2 separate regions of the Homo sapiens genome follow, and region 1 is linked to region 2. The links are contacts of gene promoters, found by promoter capture Hi-C in blood cells and fetal thymus (Javierre and others, 2016). All regions are on one chromosome and are shown on one strand. Each heading gives the region's core, a stretch centred on a gene start or on the middle of the fragment in contact. The rest is flanking DNA. Distances are from core to core; before and after follow the strand shown. Region 1 overlaps ARMCX5-GPRASP2 (ARMCX5-GPRASP2 readthrough). Region 2 holds the start of ARMCX5 (armadillo repeat containing X-linked 5).

Evidence for each region. The method cuts DNA at HindIII sites, captures the fragments that hold promoters and counts their contacts. A CHiCAGO score of 5 or more calls a contact.
Region 1: a contact is called between a fragment that was not itself captured here and the fragment with the promoter of ARMCX5 in region 2, in 3 of 17 cell types (megakaryocytes, M1 macrophages and endothelial precursors). The highest score is 6.2, in megakaryocytes.

The regions. Positions count from the first base shown.
Region 1 is chrX:102,838,857-102,843,942 of GRCh38, reverse strand. ARMCX5-GPRASP2 (ARMCX5-GPRASP2 readthrough) reads right to left here. Exons shown (of 19, transcript NR_146584.3): 11 at 3,971-4,142. The region is part of intron 2 of LINC00630 (long intergenic non-protein coding RNA 630); the gene reads right to left. Among named protein-coding and RNA genes, the nearest start is that of LINC00630, 72 kb to the right of the region's middle. The HindIII fragment of the contact is 3,579 bases long and covers 1,690-5,086 here.
Region 2 is chrX:102,596,350-102,601,673 of GRCh38, reverse strand. ARMCX5 (armadillo repeat containing X-linked 5) reads right to left here and starts at 2,159. Exons shown (of 4, transcript NM_001168478.2): 1 at 1,827-2,159; 2 at 642-754; 3 at 165-210. It overlaps ARMCX5-GPRASP2 (ARMCX5-GPRASP2 readthrough), which reads right to left and starts at 2,159. Exons shown (of 19, transcript NR_146584.3): 1 at 1,827-2,159; 2 at 165-210. RefSeq lists enhancers at 1,860-1,909, 1,342-2,113. The HindIII fragment of the contact is 9,703 bases long and covers 1-5,324 here.

The DNA of each region.
Region 1 (5,086 bases), core at 2,230-4,729, 240 kb before region 2:
CTGAAGATATGATTTTCCATATGGCTTGGGAGGAGCGTGTAGTAGCAGCCTCTGAATTCCTTAAAATGAGTGATTGCAGTGGAAGCTCCTTTTATGGAGGGGGATTTGAATTAGGTTCTAAATTCCAAGAGTGGGTTGAAAATCATATATTGTGAAATTTTCCCTTGAAAAATCCCTTCAAGAAGGAATTGAGGAAATGTTCAGAATTCAATACCCACACATAAACTCATATGCAGATTATGGCAAAATATATAACAAAGTCCTACCAAGGCTTTAAGGCTAAGAGAATCTCTACAAATTCCAGTATAATAGATTAGAGAAAAAGAGGGAAAGTTCACCAAATCCACATGTTTTGGATATTCATTTCTACTTAACAAAACGTCCCAAACAATAGCCATTTATTATCTCTCAGGATTTTGTGAGTTCACTAGGCTTCGCTGGATGATTTCTGCTCAATGTGGTATCTGTCATCAGGGACTGCAATCATCTAAATACAGAAAAATGCATCCTGGGACTTCCAAAAAAGCTCACTTACATGGATGACTGATGCTGGCATCTGCTGGGAGCTTAGTAGGGGCTACTGTGTAGAGCACCTTGGTTCAATACAGAGTCTTCTATGGGAAGGGTAGAAAGATAAAATAGAGTACATCTAGGTAAATCTGAATGTTTTAGTGTATATAATTTTGTTTATCTGAAGTTCAAATTCAACTGGTCATACTGTTTTGTTTTGTTTTAAATCTGGAAAGTCTAAGGGGTGACCCTGTGAATCTGTAAGTTTAATGACCATCTGATATGATTCTTCCAATGGGAAAGGTCTGGCGAAAACAAGCAGATCAGATTGTCAAAAAAAAAAAAACAAAACAAAACAAAACAAAAAAGACAAAAGCTGGTAACACCTGGTGTCTGTGGAACAAAGGGGCAATGAACACTTGGATACACTGCTGGTGCCAAATTGGTGTATATATTTTTTGAGGTCCACATTATTACAACTTCATAACTTGAATGGCCTTCAATACAGAAGTCCTATTTCACCAACAAAAGAGTTTCAAATGAGGGTTTAGAAAGGGATCCCAAAGTGATTTTGACCTGCAATTTGGTTAAGGAAGCTTGGGTGAGGGGGCAGGTTAGGAGTCATATGAACTTTTGGCCACAAAGAGGAAAGATAGCTAATATTTATGAAGCCGATTTTTAGCCAAGCCTAGTGCTACATTCTTCGCGTTAGTAGTTGGAATTAACCCACATAACAGCCCTGCTAGTGAGGTGTTGCTATTCTCTCTCCACAGACGGATGTGACTACAAAGCACATATTCCTTACCAGAGAAGGATGGCAAAGACATTGCTCACCAGGCCTACTGCTAGAGCCAGGAATAGAATCTGTCAATGTGGGCACCCTGAGGTGCTGGTGGCATTTCCAGCAAGGATCCAAGTTTGGTGCCCCTTCCCCTTGCTTCAGGAATGGTTTGTGGCAGAGCTAGAAGCAGAAGCTTCAGACATGAAGCCAGTATTTCTTCCATCTTTTATGAAAACTTAAGGAAAGGATTGGGCTGCTTATTATCTTGTAGGAAAGGGAGGACCTCTGAGGACACAGAGAAGGGAGAGGAAGAGAGATTTCTCCCAGACAGGAATGATGTCAGAGGTCTACAGGTCCCTCTAGGAGTAGGAACCTGAGAACTGCTCCATATCAAAGCTTGGAGTGGCTCCTGGATGGTCCACCTAGAGTGGGTATTCAACGTGAGACAGATTTTTCTGTTTGGATCAAAGGATAGATAACAGTGGTAGCATTTTTTTCTTATTTCTTGTATGTTTGATGCTCTGGCATCTGAGGCCTTGCTAACTGGGGAGGGACTACTCTGTCCAGGGTCAGCTAATTCCTAGTCCTAACAAAGAACTCACCTAAGGAGCACACCTTTTATATTCAAACTAACTAATACAGAGCACCTACACATACACACTCACACCTCCTCTACTGGGCTCTTATACTCCAGGCCAATAGTACCCTCCCCTAATCATACCAGAACCTGATTCTGTCAGAGGCATTTGAACCAGAGAAACTCTATTTTGAATAGGGGCTAAGTAAAATAAGGTTGAGACCTACTGGGCTGTATTCCCAGAAGGTCAAGGCATTCTTAGTCACAGGATGAGATAGGAGGTCATAAAGACTTTGCTGATAAAACGGGTTGCAGTAAAGAAGCCAGCTAAAACCCAACGAAACCAAAATGGCTATGAAAGTGACCTCTGGTTGTCCACACTGCTATTATAATGCATTAGCATGCTAAAAGACACTCCCACAAGCATCAAGACAGTTTACAAATGCCATGACAACATCAGGAAGTTACCCTATATGGTATAAAATGAGGAGAAACCTTCAGTTCTGGGAACTGCCCACACCTTTCCCGGAAAACTCATGAATAATCCACCCCCATGTTTAGCATATAATCAAGAAATATCCATAAAAATGGGCAACCAGCAGCCCTCGGGGCTGCTCTACCTATGGAGTAGCCATTTTTTTATTCTTTTACTTTCTAAATAAACTTGCTTTCACTTTACTCTATGGACCTGCCCCAAATTCTTTCCTGAGTGAGATCCAACAACCTTCTCTTGGGGTCTGGATCAGAACCTCTTTCCAGTAACAATTCCAGACAACTTAGGACAGCCCCTGCACCACAGAACCTACTGAAATTATTCCGAGTAGTCAGTCCTAAGCCTAATTATCCTGCCTTGTCTGTCATTTACCACGGAAAACCACAATAAAGGCTTTTGCCACGTTTACCTCCTGCCTAAATTGGTGGACTCTGAGTGGACTTATGTGGAATGGAGAGCGCCCCCTCTTGGGAACTTTGAGTAATAAACTATCTCCTTAATGGCAGTTGTCTCCTGATCCCTTGGCCTCACTATCCTAAATAATAAAACCTACATTGTAAAACAGTGCCTCAGGAAGAGGGGACTTGAAGGCTCTGAGTCAGCAAAGAAAATGGGCAGCTTCCTGAGTCATGTGGACAGATGAGTGATGACTGCCAGAGCTCTTCCTGCTATATCAGGAGGCTAAATTCCCACAAGTGTAACTGTTTCCTCAAAAAGCATGAAAATTTAACATTGCTGTACTGTCTAATTGAACTGTACAATCCTTTTATTAATATGTATCCCAACCAACTATGAGAAGAGAGCACCTGCTTTTACAGATTTGAACAAATAAGTTTCATAAGACTTTTTAAATATTTGCTGCTGATCTGATATCCTGGCGTTATAATGTTAGATTCCTTTTCATTTTTTTATCACATTTTTAAATAAATGACATAGTTTACATTTATGCCTCAGAATATATCATAGAATAATTATTGAGTTTAGAAATAAACCCTGATGACTGATAGTGTGTGTTTACACTACATCCCATTTAAATGGAAAATGTAGGTGAAAAGAACTTCATACACTAATGGGGAAGAACAAATTGGTACAATGTCTTTGCAGAGACATTTGTCAACATCTATGAGAAAACAAAATGAGGCCCCCATCAGATGCTACTCTCTTAATCACGGACTATAGAGAGAAACACACATGTTGCACCAGAAAAGGTATACAAGCATGGTCACAACAACATGTCTAGTCATATCAAAACAATCCCAAAGTCATCTTATTAGAGAAATCTCAGAAACATTATCTTCAGAGGATGAAAAGCTGGATAACAGCACTAACTTAGCTAAAAGTATGGAAACAATTGTATGCCTTGTGTAATTCTCTCACAAGAAGTCTGTGAGGAAGGCATCATTATTTCCAGTTTACAGATTACCAACTCAGACTCACTGATGGAAAATCAATTTTGCAGAGGCATCTAGTAATGATCAGGAGTGGGGATGTAACTCTTACTCTCCTCAAAGGACAACATATGATCTCCTTTTAGAGATGATGACCATCTAGGACTTAAACACTTGTCGTTTTTTTATGTTGCTAGGATTATGCCCTTATGCGTACTCACTCAACAACCTCTCTCTCTGAAGAAGCTGATGGTGCAGATGAAATCCCACTGCAAGGTCCTGTGGGTGGTAATGGGTCTAGCATGAGGGTCAAGGGCTTGTGACTCCTACCTCCTCTTCATCTGCACTCTCTTCATTTGAGACTCAATGGGAAACTGCTTTTCCAATATCAATCTAGAAGATCAAACAAGGGAGGAGAAAATGACAAGGAATTAAAGAAAATGGTTCAATGAGCTTCTTCAGTCTCCCTCAATCCTTCAGCAAAGTTCTCCTGCAACACAGAAATGGCCCCAGTGCTTCATTCACAATGTTCTACTTCCTGCTCCATTTCCTGGTGGTCTTTGTGGCAGTTATGCTGGTTGGATTAGGTGACAGTCATCATTTCTCTGAGAGGGAAGGAAAAGGTGGGCCAGGACAAACATTTGTTGAAGTCCTACTAGGTGCCATCTACTCTGTACAGGATTTCCAATTTACCCCACAGAACAGTTCTGTGAGGAAGGCATTGTGAGTTCCTTTTACAGATGACCAAGAACAGGCTGACAGAGGCTAAGAAAGGATTCCAGTGTCATACATCAAGTAAGGGACAGGAATGAAGTTACAGCTTTTGCCATCATCACAATGTCCATGCATTCTCAATAAAGGAGATATTGTCCCCAAGGGGCTGAAAATTGATTCTGGAGGGTGGGGAGATGGTAGACGTTACAATGGTTTGTGGCACTACAATGAACCACACAGCACACAAACAGTTAACACTATATCTGTGCTATTAAAATTTCATGTTCCAGGCAGGAAGGAGCTAACGAGAAAAAAAATGAATGTCTAAAAAGCCTCCTTTGGATCATAAATAATGAAAGAAAGTTAAGAAACATTGCATGTACTCGGGGACTTCTGCGGATGATGAGCCACCAAGGCTTAGGGACTAGTCACTTTACAATCCCTCATGGATGCTCACTCAACAACCCCTCTTGGTGATGATGAGGATAATGATGAAATCCTGCCCCTAGGGCCAAGAGACCTGTGTATGGGAACCATGTGAACTGACTGTCTTTTAAGATGGCAGACAGGGGCTCAGTCAGACAACAGGTATTTCTTCTGGGAGAGATGATATTAATGTTTTT
Region 2 (5,324 bases), core at 910-3,409:
TAAGGAGTAGGAAAACTGGATGAGAAGCTGAGGAATCCCTTTAGTGGTTCTTGACCCCTGCTGGAGCCAAGCAGCTCTCCACTACTCCATCCTACAGGTCTACCCAGGCAATCCCCACACTCATACCAACCTGCACTGATCTGGAGTAACTTTCTCCTCCTTACCTTGCTTCCAATGGTGACAAGCCCTACAGCAGATCTACAGGCAGACCTATGGACAAATAAACAAACAGGAGAATGTGGAAACTGATCTCCTGGTGACAGACCTTGGTCCCTTGCCCTTATTCTTGCCTTTCCAGATTTTGTCTAGTGTTTCCCTCCTCCTATCCCCTCTCCCCCACTGCTTTGTTTCAGGGCTACTCCTCCTCCTCCTTCCTATTGCCCACCATCTTCCTCTTCAGTGATTGCCCTAGAATGTCCCTCGTTCAGATTAGACTAGGTTCAAGCGTGAGAGCAGGACAAGCAGTGGAGAGTGGGAAAGGCAGCTTAGCATTCTGTACCCCCACAACTTACCAAGACTCCCAACTAAATCAGCAGCAGCAGGGGGTGGGGCAGATGGGAATAATTGGTAAAATGACAAAACAGAAGAGATGGAATTCTCTAGTCGAAGTTGCCCCCCTGTCCCTGTACCTTTACACCAACCTTAACAGATACAGGGCAATTTTCTCTTCTTCGTAATTTCCTAGTTTTAAGTTGGGTGACCATTTTACAAAACTTCACAACTGACAGTTCCACAGACCTGGGGACAGATCTACCTACAGGGATTCACAAAAACAGAGACCAATAAATGAAGACACAGGAGACAGTTGAGGCTGTTTTTGGTAGAGACCAGCACCTAGGGCACAGTTTCTTTCTGGATATAAGTACCTGTTTGGCAAACATTTTCTATCTCCCCTTTTTCTCCCACTCCTAAATCTCCAAGCCCCTCTGCTCTATTCTCAAAGTCTGACAATTCCTATACAGAGACAACTCAAACATCCCTACAAGGTAGTAGTAGTGGTGTTAGTAGGGACGAAATGCCTAGACAAACCACGGAGGCTGGGGAAAAAATGAAAAGTATTTATTTCCATATTTCATCTGGGTTCCTATGTTTCCTTCCTCTCTCCCAAAGCCTATCATTTTCTGCAACATAATGCGGGTAAGGGAGGACATGTTAGGAAAGCTGGCAGAGAGTTCTGGAGGCTCCCTTACACTCCTGCCTACTCTAATCTTAGCCATCTACCACCTCCAAGTACTGCCTCCCAAGTACTGCCCACTCTGTACAAACCAGGCCAATTTTCTTTTCCTTCTCCTCTCCCCTTGAGGTCTGCTGTCCCCTACAGATCTTTACAGAAACATGGAGTGCTGCAAACTTAGGAACAGATTTACACATAAAAACGCGTGATACACACCCAAAGAACAAATGAAAAGACAGAGAGAGAGACGTGGTTATTAATGGTCAGACCAGTAACCAAGACATGAGACCCTTTTCAAATCCAGAGCCTTGATTATCAAACATTTACAACCTCTTTTTACATTCTCTCCCTCTCAGGGCTCCCCAGACAACTGTCCTCGCCTGTGGAAGTAGCCCTCTCTTCCTCATCTAGTCTGCCTTTTCCCTGCTAGAAGCTGCAACCTTTTTCTTCCCAAGCATGGTCTGAGGTGAACCGAGTGTATGGAAATCAAGCTAGCAAAAGGTAGATCATTTTTTTTTAATTGTTGTGTGCCATTCCAATTACCCATCTCTCTCTCCTTCTCACCGCCCGCCTCCCATGACCAGGTCGCGTATCCAGTGTTCACCTCTGATACCCACATCCACCCCCAAGCGATGCGCACCTTCTCACTGACCTTCTCTGCTTGGATCAGAGGCAGTTTTCTTATTTCCTTGCCTCGAGGTGCTGTGTCATACAGCAGCAGGAACAGACAGTCAGACACAAGGACTCGAGGCAATGGCGGCGGCTGTGTATGGGGATTGACTCGGCACCTGGGACTCAAGACGAGATAACCGCTTTATCAGATTAAAGACTGCGATTGGCAAACTGTTGTCACTTTTGGTATTCTTTTCTCCTTCCTGTTCCCAGGGCTCCTCAGAACCTCGCGCGTAGTTACCATTTAACATCTACCTTTTCCTCCGCAGACGAGGTTCTTCCACGTCCGCGTTACCCACAACGGCAGTGGGAGGAGCTAGAGCGTAGTTTATGGGGATCCGGCTTATGGAAGCGGAGTGATATCAGGCTTTGTTTAGCGCCGCGACTCTTTTCTGTCGGAGGGCTCCCTGTCCTGTACCCTGTGGCCGCTTCAGGTATTGGAATGCGCAGGGACGAATTCCGGATATAGGGAAAACGGCGCTGGAACAAGAGAGGCAGACAAATACCAGAGTGTTTCTGTATTAGTTCCCCTTTTGCGGGAGCTCCCCCCACCAAGCCTACCATTCTTTCCTGAACTGAAATGCACATGGGTTTCCAGCTGTGGTGTCAGGAAATCTCTTCTGGCCTGACAGGCGGAAGTGTTCCAGTCTTTCGAAGTTCGTTCTCCAAACACAGAGGCCCACTGAAATGGGCGGTCTCGGGGTGGGGCCCAGGGTAGGAAAGTCAGCAAAGAGAGTCAAGACTGAGATAGGAGGATACATACTAATCGATTCCACAAACTTTGTGTTCCTTCGAGTCCTCCCTCCCAGCCCTTAATTTTCATTTTCTTTTTTTTTTTTTTAAGTTCTAGGATACATGTGCAGGATGTGCGTGTTTGTTAAATAGGCAAACGTGTGCCGTGGTGGCTTGCTGCACCAATCAACCTATGACCTAGGTATTAAGCCTGGCATGCATTAGCTATTTTTCCTAAGGCTTTCCCTCACCGCCCCCCACAACCCCTGACAGGTCCCAGTGCGTGTTTTTCCCCTCCCTGTGTACATGTGTTCTCATTGTTCAGCTTCCACTTATAAGGGAGAACATGCAGTATTTGTTTTCTGTTGCTGCATTAGTTTGCTGAGGATAATGGCTTCCAGCTCGATCCATGTCCCTACAAAGGACATGATCTCATTCTTTATTATGGCTGCATGGTATTTCATGGTGTATATGCACCACATTTTCTTAATGTTATCACTGATGGGCATTTGGGTTGATGCCACGTCTTTGCTATTGTGAATAGTGCGGCAATGAATATACGTGTGCGTGTATCTTTGTAATAGAATGATTTATATTCCTTTGGGTATATACCCAGTAATGGGATTGCTGGGTCAAATGGTATTTCTGGTTCTAGATATTTGAGGAATTGCCACACCGTCTTCCACAATGGTTGAACTAATTTACATTCCCACCAATGTAAAAGCGTTCCCATTTCTCTGCAACTTTGCCAGCATCTCTTGTTTCTTAACTTTGTATTAATTGCCGTTATGACTGGTGTGAGATGGTATCTCATTGTGATTTTGATTTGCATTTCTCTAATGATCAGTGATGTTGAGCTTTTTTCCATGTGTTTGTTGGCCACATAAATGTCTTCTTTTGAGAAGTGTCTGTTCATGTCCTTTGCCCACTTTTTAATGGGGTTGTTTGTTTTTTTCTCGTAAATGTAAGTTCCTTGTAGATTCTGGATATTAGACCTTTGTCAGATAGATAGACTGCAAAAATTTTCTCTTCTGTAGGTTACCTGTTCACTCGGATGATAGTTTCTTTTTCTGTGCAGAAGCTCTTTAGTTTAATTAGATCCCATTTGTCAAATTTTGCTTTTGTTGCAATTGCTTTTGGCAATTTGCCTGTGCCTGTGTCCTGAATGGTATTGCCTAAATTTTCTTCCAGGGTTTTTATAGTTTTGAGTTTGACATTTAAGTCTTTAATCCATCTTGAGTTAAATTTTGTATAAGGTGTAAGCAAGGGGTCAAGTTTCAGTTTTCTACATATGGCTAGCCAGTTTTCCCAGCACCATTTATTAAATAGGTAATCCTTTCCCCATTGCTTGTTTTTGTCAGGTTTGTCGAAGATCAAATAGCTGTATATGTGCAGTCTTATTTCTGAGTTCTCTATTCTGTTCGACTGGTCTATGTGTCTGTTTTTGTACCAGAACCATGCTGTTCTACAAGGTTACTGTAGCCTTGTAGTATAGTTTGAAGTCAGGTAGTGTGATGCCTCCAGCTTTGTTCTTTTTACTTAGGATTGTCTTGGCTATACGAGCTCTTTTTTGGCTCTGCGTGAATTTTAAAATAGTTTCTTCTAATTCGGTGAGAAATGTCAATGGTAGTTTGATGGGAATAGCATTGAATCTATAAATTACTTTGGGCAGTATGGCCATTTTCACGATATTGATTCTTCCTATCCATGAGCATGGAATGTTTTTCTATCTGCTTGTTTCCTCTTTGATTTCCTTGAGCAGTGGTTTGTAGTTCCCCTTGAGTAATGATCTTACTGCTAAAGTATGTCTATCAACTGATAAAATTTTAAAATCATCATTCATTTTCATAATAACTGCTGTTTTATGACTTATGTAATTATCTTAGGAACATTTCAGACATTTGAAAGATCCAAAGCAGAAAAGGTATCTTATATACACCTTAAAAAATGAGGATATCAGAGAATAACCTAAGTATATTATTAGCGCCAGGCTTCATTTCTCTTTTTTGGGTGGCAGGCGCTATGAACAGTAAGTTGAAGCAAGGAGAAAAAAAAATGCCCTTGCTCCAAGATTTTTACTTGGCCTTCAACTTTTAGCCAGAAAGCCCATTGGAGATTCAAGTTGATTTTTATTGTTAAAGGAATACTCATACTTCTAATCTTACATTCTACCAAAAAGAAAAGTGACTTAATGCTTTCTCTAAGTACACCTCACGGCATTGCTTGAGAGCTGAAAGATCCAACACATGTTAGCAATTGTTAGTAGCAATTTTAGGTACTTAATTATCCATTCACTATTAATCACTTGGTGCATATTCTTCAGATTGTTTCTCTTTCTGTAATGTATTCTCAGATATCAAAACACTCCAATGTATAAACATGTAAAATACATTTCTTTGCAAAATCGTGATTACCCTCTGAGTAATATATTACCTTACCTCTTTTCCTTATTATGATATCTCTGGATTTTTATTTGCCATTTCATTTGGTTGAGCATATTTTCAAATATTTATTGTATATTTACATAGTTCTTTGTGCATTCTGTTATTATTTGCCAATTTCTCTATTTGTTAAGAGATCTTTGTATGCCAAGCATACTAACCCCATGTCTTCAATATAGATCATAAATATTTTCCTACACCTTTTTTGTGTGTATGTATGTATGTATATATGTGTGCATATATATATGCACTTATAAATAATTTATATTCTATTTATGCACAACTTGTGTATGCTATATATGGAG